3 separate regions of the Homo sapiens genome follow, and all the other regions are linked to region 2. The links are contacts of gene promoters, found by promoter capture Hi-C in human tissues and cell types (Jung and others, 2019). All regions are on one chromosome and are shown on one strand. The core of a region is centred on a gene start or on the middle of the fragment in contact, and the rest is flanking DNA. Distances in the headings are between cores, read along the strand shown. Region 1 overlaps ARFRP1 (ARF related protein 1). Region 2 holds the start of RGS19 (regulator of G protein signaling 19). Region 3 has its middle 7.6 kb from the start of HELZ2.

Region 1 (4,209 bases), core at 1,135-3,634, 380 kb after region 2:
CTGGTACTCCCTGCTCAGACACCCTAAGGATTTCGGAGAGTTGGGCTGTGCCTCCTGGCTTCTCATGCTCTCGGGTGTGTGTGTCTTAACACACTGACCACCAGCTTGTCCTACCTGGTCAGCATCCAGTTCTAGGTCTCTGGGCACTCATGCCTGGACAGGAGAGCTGGCACAGCCTGGAGGCAAAGTGGCAAATGTGAGCTGTTGTCTGCTCCACGTGGACGCGGAGTTTGCTGTGTTTTTTTCTGATTGAGATAGAGGTGCACTCATCTGGTCCAGGGCTCAGCACTTGTACCTGAGGCTGCAGGGGCTGTGCCCTGTCTTGCCCAGGAGTGTTGCCAGCGAGCCCAGGACTGACCAGCCCAGGCTGCAGAGGTCTGAGCTCAGTGACTCTGGCCCTGTCCTGGCAGGGAAGGCTCGCTTCGTAGATGGCGCTGGTCAGTCTTATCCGCATGGCCACACTCCCTCCCTGTGCGAGGTGCTGGCACAGAGCCCCACAGGTGCACTCCCTCAACGGGCCAGGCTGTGGTCTAGGTTCCTCCAGCCCCCAAACCCTATCTTTTTTTTGAGACAGGGTCTCTCATTCTCACCCAGGCTGGAGTGCAGTGGTGTGATCAGAGCTCACTACAGCCTCAACCTCCCAGGCTCAAGCCATCCTCCCACCTCAGCCTCCCGAGTAGCTAGGACTGCAGGCGCACATTACCATAAGCTTTTGTACAGACGGAGTCTCACTGTGTTGCCCAGGTTGGCCGTGAAGTGGGCTCAGGTGATCCTCCTGCTTCTGCCTCCCAAAGTGTTGGGATAATAAGTGTGAGCCACCACGCCTGGCCCAATCCCTGTCTTTCACCTTTGGCCACCATCAGGCCAAAGGTTGCCGGCAGGTTCTCAGGAGCAGCGTCTGGGGACACCTCCACCAGATCTCCCCGCAACCCCAGAATGCATCCCAGAAGGGTCTTGCAGTTGGGGGCTGCCCTCTTGCCCCTTCCTCATGTGAGCCCCTCACTGTGGCCATGACACAGGCCTGGCTCTGCTGGCCCTTGGCAGGGTGGGGACTGAGCCCCAACTCCTGGTGCTTCCTCCCAGTATTATGCGGAGTGTCACGGCGTCATCTACGTCATTGACTCCACCGACGAGGAGAGGCTGGCTGAGTCCAAGCAGGCGTTTGGTGAGTGCGGCCTGGCTGCTCTGGGAGGGATGGATGGTGAGTGGGGGCAGGTCCAGCTTGGGCAGCTCTGTGCCTGGGGCAGGCTCAGTGTCTGGTCAGAAGTGCTCCTGCCTAGTGGGTGACGGGGGGGGGGGGGGCAGAGGGAGTGGCTGTCACAGTGTCCACGCCTGTGGGCCCCTGGGCAGTCAGAGGCAGGATGCTGGGTGTGAGGCGCTGCCTCTCCTGCCCTCCCCAGAGAAGGTGGTGACCAGCGAGGCGCTGTGCGGTGTCCCCGTCTTGGTGCTGGCCAACAAGCAGGATGTGGAGGTGAGCCCCACCCCTGCCTCCCGCAGCAGCTTCCCGAGTCCCCAGCCTCCCCCACAGCAAGGGGAGCAGGTGTGCACCCAGACACCCCAGGCCCAGTGACTGCCCAGGGGGTACAGAGCCATTCTCAAGGCCTGCCCTGCCCCCAGCAGCTTCCCAAGCCTGGTTCCTCTCCAGACCTGCTGCTGCCAGCCCTGGAGGTTCTCCCACCTCAGGGCAGGCGCCCAGAGGCCTCTTCCTGCTATGCAGGGCACCTCTCCCCAGGAGGGCGGCCGTGTCTCAGGAGTGTGTGGCCAAGCTGTGGGGACACCCAGGTGAAACTCAGAGCTCAAAGAAGTGATGCTGGGGCCCTGGTGGGAGTCAGCTCTGACCCTTACCTGTTCCTGCTACCCTTGGAGGTGGCATCTGTGCCAGCCCCACCCCCAGGGCAGCCCCTCAAGACCCCTCTGAGGTGCCACTGCCCCCGGGAGCACTGGCCACGCTGAGTTCTAGCTGTTCTCTTGGAGTGGCTTTGCACAGAAGCAGCCCGGCGTCCAGAGGGCCAGGTGAATCTTCACTTCCTGCCTTCTCTGGGGTGGCTCTGTTGCCCCCAGCCTGTAAGGCTGGCCTCCCCTACAATCTCAGCCGACAAGAGGGACATCTGGTACGGGGCAGGGGTCTCCCCTCGGAGGAAAAGGGGAGGGGAGGGCTGCTTTTTGAAGACTGGGCAGGTGGTTGTGAGCAGAAGCCACCATGACTGCAGACTGCCTCCATCACTGATGCAGGGCTCCCACCTCTCCATCATCCCCGGCTGTGTGGGCCCCTGGGACCTGCCTCCGCCACTGCCCAGGAGGCCTCAGTCCTCAGCGCCCCACCTCGGGGCTCAGGGTGTCCCCCAGGGAGGGGATGGGGGGTGGACTCCTTGGAGCCGTGTGGACGTCTAGTTTGTCTCAGGCACTACCAGCCATGTTCAGCCTCGGGCTGAGCACAGGGTCCTCACTGCTGTGGTCTCTGTGGGAGACACTGGGACCCTGGTGGAGCTCTGGCTGTTTCCCTGGGGTGAAGGGCATACGCCCTTCTGAGAGTCCCGGGCCCACAGGCAGGACAGGGCCAGACGTGGGGGCTGCTCCTCACGGCCTTACCTCCCCCAGACGTGCCTCTCAATCCCTGACATCAAGACGGCCTTCAGCGACTGCACCAGCAAGATCGGCAGGCGAGATTGCCTGACCCAGGCCTGCTCGGCCCTCACAGGGTGAGTGGGGGCTGCACCTGCGGGGGCTTTGGGGACCGAGACCCCCCGCCTCACACCCGCTGTCTTCACAGCAAAGGGGTGCGCGAGGGCATCGAGTGGATGGTGAAGTGTGTCGTGCGGAATGTGCACCGGCCGCCGCGGCAGAGGGACATCACGTAGGCGCAGCCGCGCTGCCGTCGGGACGGCTGGTCCCCTGGTGCTGGAGGAGTGGCCTCCTGTTGGCTCCCATGCTGCTGATCTGGGGGGTGGGTTTGCTTTGCTTTGGGGTTCTTCTATTTACTTTGTTTTCTCGAAGACAAACTTTCCTCTATGTCTGGAAAAGCGTAGGCATCCGGAGGCTTTGGAGGGGAGTCTGGCAGCCCGGCTGGCCCAGGCCCTGCAGCGGCAGCCTTTCCACAGGGCGCAGCGGCGGCCTTTCGAGGCCCTTTCTGGGGGGTCTGAGGGAGACCTGGTTGGGAATTGGGGCTCCAGTGCTCAGGCTGGCTTGGGCTGCATGAGGACAGCCCTGTGGGACCCTCGGGAGACCCCGTGGCTGTCTCCGCCCCATCGAGGAGGAGGCCCGTCAGCCATGGCTGCCATCTGGCTTCTGCCCTGTGACCCCGTGACCCCGTGACCCCGGAAGTGGTCTGGGGCTGATCTTGCCTTGAGGAAGACCCAGGCCATGTTCCCAAAGGCCAGCGGGGGCCCTGGATTGTGATGCAGCCTCGGGACAGGGCTGAGGCCTGCGGGGGAAGACCTATACCCCACGCCTGGGCCTGGCTTCACCTCACCCTAATCCCCCGGGAGGGAGCTGACTGATGCAAAAAGCTGAGGGGGCCTGCTGGGAGTGGCTGTTTTTATGCCCCAGCCCCGCAAGTTGGGGAGTGTTTGTGGGGGTCCAGAGCCCTCCCCCAGCCAGGAGAGAACCTCCCGGAGGGGTTCTCTGTGGGGCCCTGTGTCCCCTGCTCGGGAGTAAGGCTGGTCCTGGGGTCCTCCCTGCACGGACCCCACTGGGCCTGCCGAGTGCTGTGTTCTTCCTCAGTCTGGCTGTGGGCAGGAGCGGCCTGCCCAGTGTCACCCAGGGTGAGTGCAAAATAAAGACGGCGAGTGTGGCTCTGTCCATCCCTTCCCTCCTGGAGGGTGGAGGCTCCTGGCTGTTGGACACGGTGATGGTGTTACTGGGCTGCTCAGGGGCTGGTGGGCAGGTGAGGGGCTCCCCAGGTGGGCCTGGAGAGTCCAGGCACTCCCTTCCTGCGGATGTGGGAAGGACATGGGGTCCTGGGAGGAGCTGCTGGGAAGGGGCATGAGTCAGGGTGGGGGTGGCGCAGCAGCTGCGGGGCTGTGACTCACAGGAGTCGGGCCCTGGAAGTCCCCGCGTCCTCTCCAGGGGACCCTGTGTGTGTTCTGCAGGTTGGTTCCCAGGACCTGGGGGGGACCTCCAGCCCCGGGAACCTGGCCGTGCTGGGGAGGCGAGTGGCTGGTGCAGCCCCCCGGTTGCTCTGGGTGCATCGGGAGGCTTCAGAGCCTGCCC
Region 2 (3,891 bases), core at 100-2,599:
TGTGCAACTGGAAGGCATTTTATGAACAGATCCCGACACTGGGAACTATCCGGGTGGAGTGCTTGTGCTGGGGAGGACAGGAGCTGCACACAGCCGGGCCAGGGGAGGGGCGGGGGGCACAGATGCTCTGCAGACACTTCCAGAGCAGGGTCAGGGCCACCCTGACACAGGGCCAAAGCATGCTGCGATGAGAAGCCTAACCCACGTCTGTACCGAGTCATAAAGGATGAGAAGAGTCGGCCAAAGGGACAGGGCGTTCGTGGCAAAGGGGACAGTGTGGCCTTAAGCTTTAGGACATCTTGGGACACACGGGTCAGCAGGGACTCTGCCAGGCCCCACAGGAGACATTCGGCATGACTCCGGATGCAAGAACCCGCACCCCCAGTTCTCCCCAGCCCCGCAGCACAGGAATCTCCCCCTTCCTTGGGAACCCCCCACAGCACAGACAGGCGGCTCTTAACCCAGTTTTACAGACGCGGCTCACGGAGGCGAGGGGTGGGCCGGGCTGGCGTACCCGCCGATCGGTCCTTTGCAGCAGCCTCCTCTTTCCCAAGCTGGGCAAGCAGCATATGGGGCCCAGCTCTCGTGCCTCCACTGTCGTGGAAGTCCCACACGGATGGCAAAGCAGGAACGGCCCCGCCGAGCAGAGTCGGGGGCCACGGCCACACCCCCATCTACTACCGTGCGGCTCCGTCCGCCCGGGAGCCAGGGCTCCACTATGAGCACCTCGACTCTCCGGGCCACCCCCAGGCGACTGTGGGGGCCGACGCGCGGGCGGGGCGGGTGGGGTGCGGAGCCGGCCGAGCGCGGGGCGGGGCGCGGCGGGCGGGGCGGGCCCGGCGACCGCCGGCGCGAGGAAGTCCCGGCCCCTGGCTTTGGGGAAGTGCCGCCGAGGCGCCTGCGCACTGCGCCCCCGCGCCCCCTCCCCGACTGTCGGGCCGGACCTTGGAGCGCGCGGGCCGGCGGCGGCGCGAGTGGCTCGGGAGCGCGGCTGGTGAGTGCGCGCGCGCAGCGCCGGGGACAGCGGCCCTGCCCCTCCCGGCCCGGGCCCGGGGACCGTGCTGGGCGGGAGCTTCGGGAGCCGGCGCACGGGACTCGAACCCCAAGGGCTCCCGCCGCCAGGTCCACGTGGACCCTGGGCCGCAGTGGAAGTGGAGCCCGCCCCCCGCGCGTGGGGGAGGGGGCGCCGCAGCCGGGTTCCCCTTTTTCTGGAGCTCAAAGCCTGGGGAAGTGATTGCTCAAAGGTGGGGGCCGGAAGAACCCAGGTTTCCGCGTCTCCCTCCCCCTCTCAGCCCGGTGAGGAGGGGCCGGGGCGGGACACCCTGTCCGCCCCCGCCCCCACCCCGCTGGATCTGGCAGCCACTCAGCCCTTCGAGCTGTAGGGGAGGCGCTGCGCCCCCGGCCCCAGCCGATCGGGGGCTCCTGGCGCTAGCCTCCCTCCAGAGCGCCGCAGGAGTCCCTCCTGCCGTCTGACTTGAGTCCCTGCTGCTGCAGTGCACGCCCCTTCGGCAGCCAGGGTGGGGCCCAGACCCAACCTGGCCCCTCCTGCCCCCACCCCGCCTTTGGGTCGCTGGTGAGTAGGGAGCTTTGAGGTAGGGGTGGGGGCGTCAGAGGCTGAAGAAAGAGGCACCTGGAGGAGAACACAGGCTTCTCCAGACTGGACCCTAACAGCAGAGAGAGGAGCGTGGTGGGTGGGCCACCACCACCATTTCAGAGGTGGGGAGAGCTGGCCTTCCCTGGAGGGGCCAGGCCAGGGCTCGCCCACCAGCCAGATGTGGAGGGTGGCAGATGGGAAAGGCCCTGGGTAGGAGCTAAGGACTGAGAATGGAGCCCCTCTTCAACCCCCCTCCCAAAGGTTATGACATTTTTTTCTGGGATTGTCACATTTTCTTATTCTTTTTTTGGACTGGGCAGGCTCTGGGACGTTCTTTTTCCTTCTGTGGAGCAAAGCGGCAGCCACTCCCAAGGGATCCTCTATCCCCAGAGAGCAGACGTGCCGCCTATCCAGCCTATCCCATCCCAGACTTGGGGGCCAAAGCCTGGGAGGCTGGGGAAGGGGGTCCCCAATGCCAGGTTGACAAGCAGGAGGACCCTAGTTGAGACTCTGTATCCCCCAGGAGAGACGGGGGGAGGGTAGCCTGGGGACATGGGTTGCCCCAGTTGACCTGAGAAGGGTACAGGAAGCCAGGTCCAGGGACAGGTGACCAGGTCCAGGGCCTGCAACTGGGAAAGAAGGGGCTGGCTCCCTGCTCTGCAGCAAATGCAGCCCCTAGCACCCCGGCCCTGCACCCCTAAACACGTCCCCTCCTCCAGTTCAGAGCTGGGGTGGAGATGGTAGCCCAGGGGGACAGTCTCAGGGGTGCTAGAGTGTGGGGGAGGACCCTGGGTGGGGACAGAGAGGAGGAAGAACTGCTGCCTGGGGAAGCCACAGACAGCCCCGTCTGGGTACAGCTACCAAACCTCAGGTTGCCACGCCCCTTCCTTTCCCTAGAAACTTGACCCCTGAAAGAAAGCCCAGCTGCAGGGCTACTTTCGGTCTCCTCATCTACTTGCTAGGAGCCCGTGGGACCCCCAGTCTCAGAGGAAACTGGGCCGGTGGTGAGGGGCCAAGGTCCCAGGGGATGCTGCACCTGCCCCAGACTTGGGCCAGGGCAGTGGCCTCTGCATGCCCAGGCCTCGGGGGTATTGGGGGCCCTAAGAGTGCAGAACTCCAGCACTGTCTCTTCTGAGGGCCATTCACACACCGTCCCAGGAGGCCAAGAGAAGCCAACCAGCCAGAAACAAGCATTCAAAGGCCACGAGCTAGGGGAGGCGTGGCGGGGGGATGAAGATTGAGAAAATAAAGTAGAATCAAGTTGTGAGCTTCCTGGCCAGGGAGGGTGGCGGCACATGAGGAGGGTGGCGGATGTGCACGGAGGCCCCTCCCTGCCCTGGGCAGAAGTGGGCGCAGGTGTTCACAACTGCCTCCGGGGCACTGATTGGCCCCCCTGTACCATCGCCCAAGGAGACTTGGGATTCGAAGTGGCATCTTAGGTGGCATGAGGGCCACTCACAGCTTTGGCGCTCCTGGTGCACCTCCCCTGCAGACGGTGCAACCAAATGCTGGGAGGGACATGCACCACACCACACCCCCCTCAGGGACTCCGAGGCTTCGACTGGGGAGCAGGGTGCCCCCCACCCCTGCCACCCCCACTTCCCTGGCTGGCGCACCCTGTGGTAGGGCCTTGGTTCCACAGCAGTTTCACAGCCTAGAGGCAGTGGGCAAGGAGGGAGGGAAGTCTTGGGTGGGAGGTAGCAGGACCAAAGAACCATGTTTGGGGGGCATGTCCCTCCTCACCGGGGCCCTGCCCCCCTTCCCACACCCTCAGCAAGTCCAGCCTGAGTCCCACTTAAATCCTCACTGCTGCAGGTCTAGCCTGCTGCCCCTGGCTGAGACCTCTGGGACCCACAGACAGACCTGGACTCTTGGTGGGAAGCCACTCTGCCCACTCCCCACCCCAGACACCCTAGAAGCCAGTCTGGCCACCACCCGCACGCACCAGTTGGTAGCCCCAGACTCTCGGGGCCCCTTTGGGAGGGGCTGGGAGCCGGAAACCAAGAAAGAGGAACCCAGGCTTCCGGCTTCCCAGGGAGTGAGCGGATGGGGGTGTCTCGGAACCTCCAGTGGGGGCCTCATCTGGGGCCCAGCCTGGGAGGAGGGGCCAGAAGCTGCTGCAGCTCCCTCCTCAATGATCCTGGACCCCCTCCCAGCCCTGCTGTAAGCTTGGGGTCGGGGTAGAAGCCCTAGGCAGAGCTGGGTCCAGAGGCAGGAGCAGGCCCCGCTAGGGAGACACCCTCTCAGGACCCCTCCTAAGGGGTAGGCAGGGGCTGGGGTTTCAGGTTCTCAGTCAG
Region 3 (4,081 bases), core at 1,555-4,054, 500 kb after region 2:
CATGTTGCCCAGGCTGGCCTTGAACTCCTGAGCTCAGGCAATCTGCCTGCCTTGGCCTCCCAAAGTGCTGGGATTACAGGCATGAGCCACCGTGCCCGGCCTATTTTATTTATTTATTTTTGAGACGGAGTCTTGCTCTGTCATCCAGGCTGGAGTGCAGTGGCGCGATCTCAGCTCACTGCAACCTCTGCCTCCTGGGTTCAAGCAATTCTCCTGCCTCAACCTCCCGAGTAGAGTAGCTGGGACTACAGGCACGCACCACCATGTCTGGCTAATTTTTGTATTTTTAGTAGAGATGGGGTTTCACCATGTTGGCCAGGCTGGTCTTGAACTCCTGCCCTCAAGTGATCCGCCCACCTCAGCCTCTCAAAGTGCTGGGATGACAGGCCACTGCGCCCAGCCTTGGATGAGTTTTAAGCAATACAGACACATGTACCTGCTGCCTGCACCAGGCAGAGGACACTCCCCTTGTTCCCTTCTCTAGTCGGGCCTGTCCTCACAGTCACTGACCTGGTTTTTAGAATTCGTCTGTTCCTGAGCTTCATAGAAACGGAACCGCACATTTAATACTCGTCTGTGTTTGGCCTCTTTCACTGAACTGTTTCTGAGATTCCTCCATGCTTCTGTGTGGGTCGGACGTGTTCGGTTTTGGTTTTGTCTGAGTAGTGTTGTGTCGTACAGACGTTCCACGGTTTGTTTATTCAGCCGCCTGGTGATACGCATTGGAGCTGTTTTCAGTCTGGGGCTGCTGGGAATGGGGCTGCTGTGAACCGGCGGGTGTCTCTGTGTGGGCGTCAGCACGCTGGCCCCAGCAGGAGGGGCTCCCTGGCCCAGGCGTTGTGAAGAATGAAGATCCTTTTTTCATTTCTCTTGGGTAGATTTGCAGGAGTCGAACTGCTGGATCCTGAGACAGATGTTCATTTAACTGTATCGGAAATGACCGAGCTGTTTTCCAAGGTGGCTGTGCCGTCTTGTATCCCCACCAGCACCAACGGGAGCGGTGGCTGCTCCGCACCCTCCGCGGCACGAGCCGTCCTCACTCTGGACGCAGTCGGTCTGCCCGTGTGAGGTGGTTTCTCGCTGGGTCCCATTTGCGTGTCCCAGTGACTGGATGGTAAGCACCTTCTCACGTGCTTTTGGTCATTTGTATATGTTCTTGTGTGGAGTGTCTGTTCAAATATTTTGTTTGTTTTTAAAAACTGGACTTTTGAGTTTTGAGATTAAAAAAAATCTGCCTTCTAGGAGTGGTGGCTCACCCCTGTAGTCCCAACACTTTGGGAGGCCGAGGCAGGAGGATCACTTGAGGCCAGGAGTTCAAGATCAGCCTGGGCAACATAGTGAGACCCCATCTCTACAAAAAATTTTAAAATTAGCTGAGGGTGTTGGTGCATGCCTGGAGTCCCAGCTACTTGGGACGCTGAGGTCGGAGGATTGTCTGAGCCCGGAGTTCAAGGCTGCAGTGAGCTGTGATCACACCTCTGCGCTCCAGCCTGGGCAATAGAGCAAGACCGTCTCAAAGCATAATAATAATAACAAAGATAAAAACATTTTCAGTTTGCATATAGTTCATCAGATATGTGTATTTTGAATATTTTTGTCTCAACTAATAGCTTGACTTTTCATTTTTCTCACTGGTACAGACATTTTTTACTTATATAACCTTGTTTATCAATTTTTTTCTCTTATATTTCTACCTTTTATGTCTTTTTAAAGAAATATATGCCGGCTGGGTGCGGTAGCTCACGCCTGTAGTCCCAGCACTTTGGGAGGCCTAGGCGGGTGGATCACGAGGTCAGGGTCAGGAGACCAAGACCATCCTGGCTAACATGGTGAAACCCCGTCTCTACTAAAAATACAAAAAATCAGCTGGGCGTGGTGGTGGGCGCCTGTAGTCCCAGCTACTCGGGAGGCTGAGGCAGGAGAATGGCATCAACCCGGGAGGCAGAGCTTGCAGTGAGCCAAAATCACGCCACTGCACTCCAGCCTGGGCGACAGAGCAAGACTGTCTCAAAAAAAAAAAAAAGAAAAGAAAAGAAAAAAATATATGCCTATCCCAAGGTTGTGAAGATTTCTCCTGTTTTCTTCTAGAAGCGTTACAGTTTAGCTTTGATGCTTAGATGTTCCATCTTGAATTAAATTTTGTGTGCAATGCGAGGTGGGGCTGAGCTTCGTTTTTCCCGAAACTTTACTCCGTGTTCCAGCTGCCACTTGTTGAAGACTGTCCTTTCCCCGCCTCAGGCCCTTCGGGGACCAACAGACCGCAGACCTGGGTCTGACCCAGGCTCCCTTCTGTCCTGTCTTGTCTCTCCCGACATCTGCAGTAACGTTCTGGACTTGAACTTCTGGGCGTCAGGAGCAAGCCACATTCCTGTATGTCCAGGGAGAAGAGGGGAGACCGGAAGGCTGGGTGGAAAGGCCCAGGTTTTGGCTCCCTCCTCCAGGGCAGCCAGGCTGGGCACAGCTGCCCCACGGGGCGCACAGGCACCTGGCTCTGTGTCAACCAGATGCCCAGAGCAGCCCCAGGGCAGGCCCACACCCACTCCAGACCCCAACATCTCCAGCCCCAGCAGGAGTGTGGCCCCTCCCCCTGTCATCCCGGAGAGGCGGCCACATGGCAGAGGGACACTGGGGGCCAGTGAGGACTAGGAAGGTCCCTGCCAGGAGACCTCAGGGATATCTGATCAAGCCTCAAGCTTTGGGGGTGCTGTGGGGGCAAGCAGAGAAAGGCACAGCCCCTGGCCAGGCTCTCTGTTGCCCCTGGGAGGCCTTTTAGATCCTGCAACACCTACCCCATGCCTCCTGCTCAGGGCCTGGCCTGAGGGCTCCAGCAGGCTTCAGTGTGGGGGAGAGGTGAGCAGGGGCTGAGAAGGTGGCTCATCACCTCTAATGATGTCAGAAAACTAGGCTGTTTCTCCTGCACTCTCACAGCACAGCTCACTGCTGACACCAGGTGGGGGTTCTGTTCCAACAACAGATTAGTCAGTTTTGCAGCCGACGCCGGCTGGGCGTGCTCCAGTTTAATTCCGATACCATCTACCTGAAGACACCATCTACCTAGAGACGTCTACTTGGAGCCATTGTCTGCTGCCCTGTGCCGTCCGCTATCACCCGAACCCTGCGGGAAAACCCACACACCCTCCCCAGCATCACAGTGCAGGTGGAGGTCCCCAGGGCTTAGGGCCAGGCCTCAGTTTACCTGTGACTGTGGGCCATGTGCTCTCGGGCAGGAACTGACGGCCTCTGGGTATAACTCACTTAAGCAGGTCTTTAACACCCAGTTCCCATCTTTCCAGAGACCCTCCCGGGCGCCCTCCCACCAGCCAAAAGCTCACACCTTGAGTGGAGGAGGTGATAGGGTCTGCAGTGGGAGGGATTCCAGATCAACCTGGAGACATTGTCCACCCATAGACACCATCATCTACCTGGAGACATTGTTGTCAACCTGGAGACACCATCAATTCATAGACATTGTTGTCAACCTGGAGACATTATTGTTAACCTGGAGACACCATCAATTCATAGACATTGTTGTCAACCTGGAGACACCATCAATTTATAGACATTGTTGTTAACCTGGAGACATTGTTGTCAACCTGGAGACACCATCAATTCATAGACGTTGTTGTCTACCTGGAGACATTATTGTTAACCTGGAGACACCATCTATTCATAGGCATTGTTGTCAACCTGGAGACACCGTCTATTCATAGACATTGTTGTTAACCTGGAAACATTGTTGTCAACCTGGAGACACCATCAATTCATAGACATTGTTGTCTACCTGGAGACACCGTCTTTTCATAGACATTGTTGTTAACCTGGAGACATTGTTGTCTACCTGGAGACACTGTTGTCAACCTGGAGACACCATCAATTCATAGACATTGTTGTCAACCTGGAGACACCATCAATTCATAGACATTGTTGTCTACCTGGAGACATTGTTGTTAACCTGGAGACATTGTTGTTAACCTGGAGACACCGTCAATTCATAGACGTTGTTGTCTACCTGGAGACACCATCTAGCTGGAGACGCCATCTGTCCTTAGACATCCTCATCTACCTGGAGATGTCCACACAA

What was found. The method cuts DNA at HindIII sites, captures the fragments that hold promoters and counts their contacts. A contact is called where the count stands out against the background at its distance.
Region 1: a fragment that was not itself captured here is called in contact with the fragment with the promoter of RGS19 in region 2 in 1 of the 25 tissues and cell types used here (dorsolateral prefrontal cortex).
Region 3: a contact is called between a fragment that was not itself captured here and the fragment with the promoter of RGS19 in region 2, in 1 of the 25 tissues and cell types used here (lymphoblastoid cells).

Annotation. Positions count from the first base shown.
Region 1 is chr20:63,699,092-63,703,300 of GRCh38, reverse strand. ARFRP1 (ARF related protein 1) reads left to right here. Exons shown (of 8, transcript NM_001267547.3): 5 at 1,084-1,165; 6 at 1,401-1,471; 7 at 2,599-2,699; 8 at 2,771-4,209. The coding sequence ends at 2,858. Among named protein-coding and RNA genes, the nearest start is that of TNFRSF6B, 4.5 kb to the right of the region's middle. RefSeq lists enhancers at 3,660-3,739, 2,880-3,761, 3,810-3,859, 3,930-4,109. The HindIII fragment of the contact is 4,084 bases long and covers 343-4,209 here.
Region 2 is chr20:64,076,976-64,080,866 of GRCh38, reverse strand. It overlaps RGS19 (regulator of G protein signaling 19), which reads left to right and starts at 1,349. Exons shown (of 6, transcript NM_005873.3): 1 at 1,349-1,573. OPRL1 (opioid related nociceptin receptor 1) reads right to left here and starts at 785. Exons shown (of 5, transcript NM_182647.4): 1 at 515-785. It overlaps MIR6813 (microRNA 6813), which reads left to right and starts at 3,857; the gene lies at 3,857-3,891. RefSeq lists silencers at 201-374, 768-1,447. The HindIII fragment of the contact is 4,418 bases long and covers 1-2,025 here.
Region 3 is chr20:63,579,820-63,583,900 of GRCh38, reverse strand. No RefSeq gene overlaps it. Among named protein-coding and RNA genes, the nearest start is that of HELZ2, 7.6 kb to the right of the region's middle. RefSeq lists enhancers at 307-807, 808-1,308, 2,592-2,771. The HindIII fragment of the contact is 4,585 bases long and covers 512-4,081 here.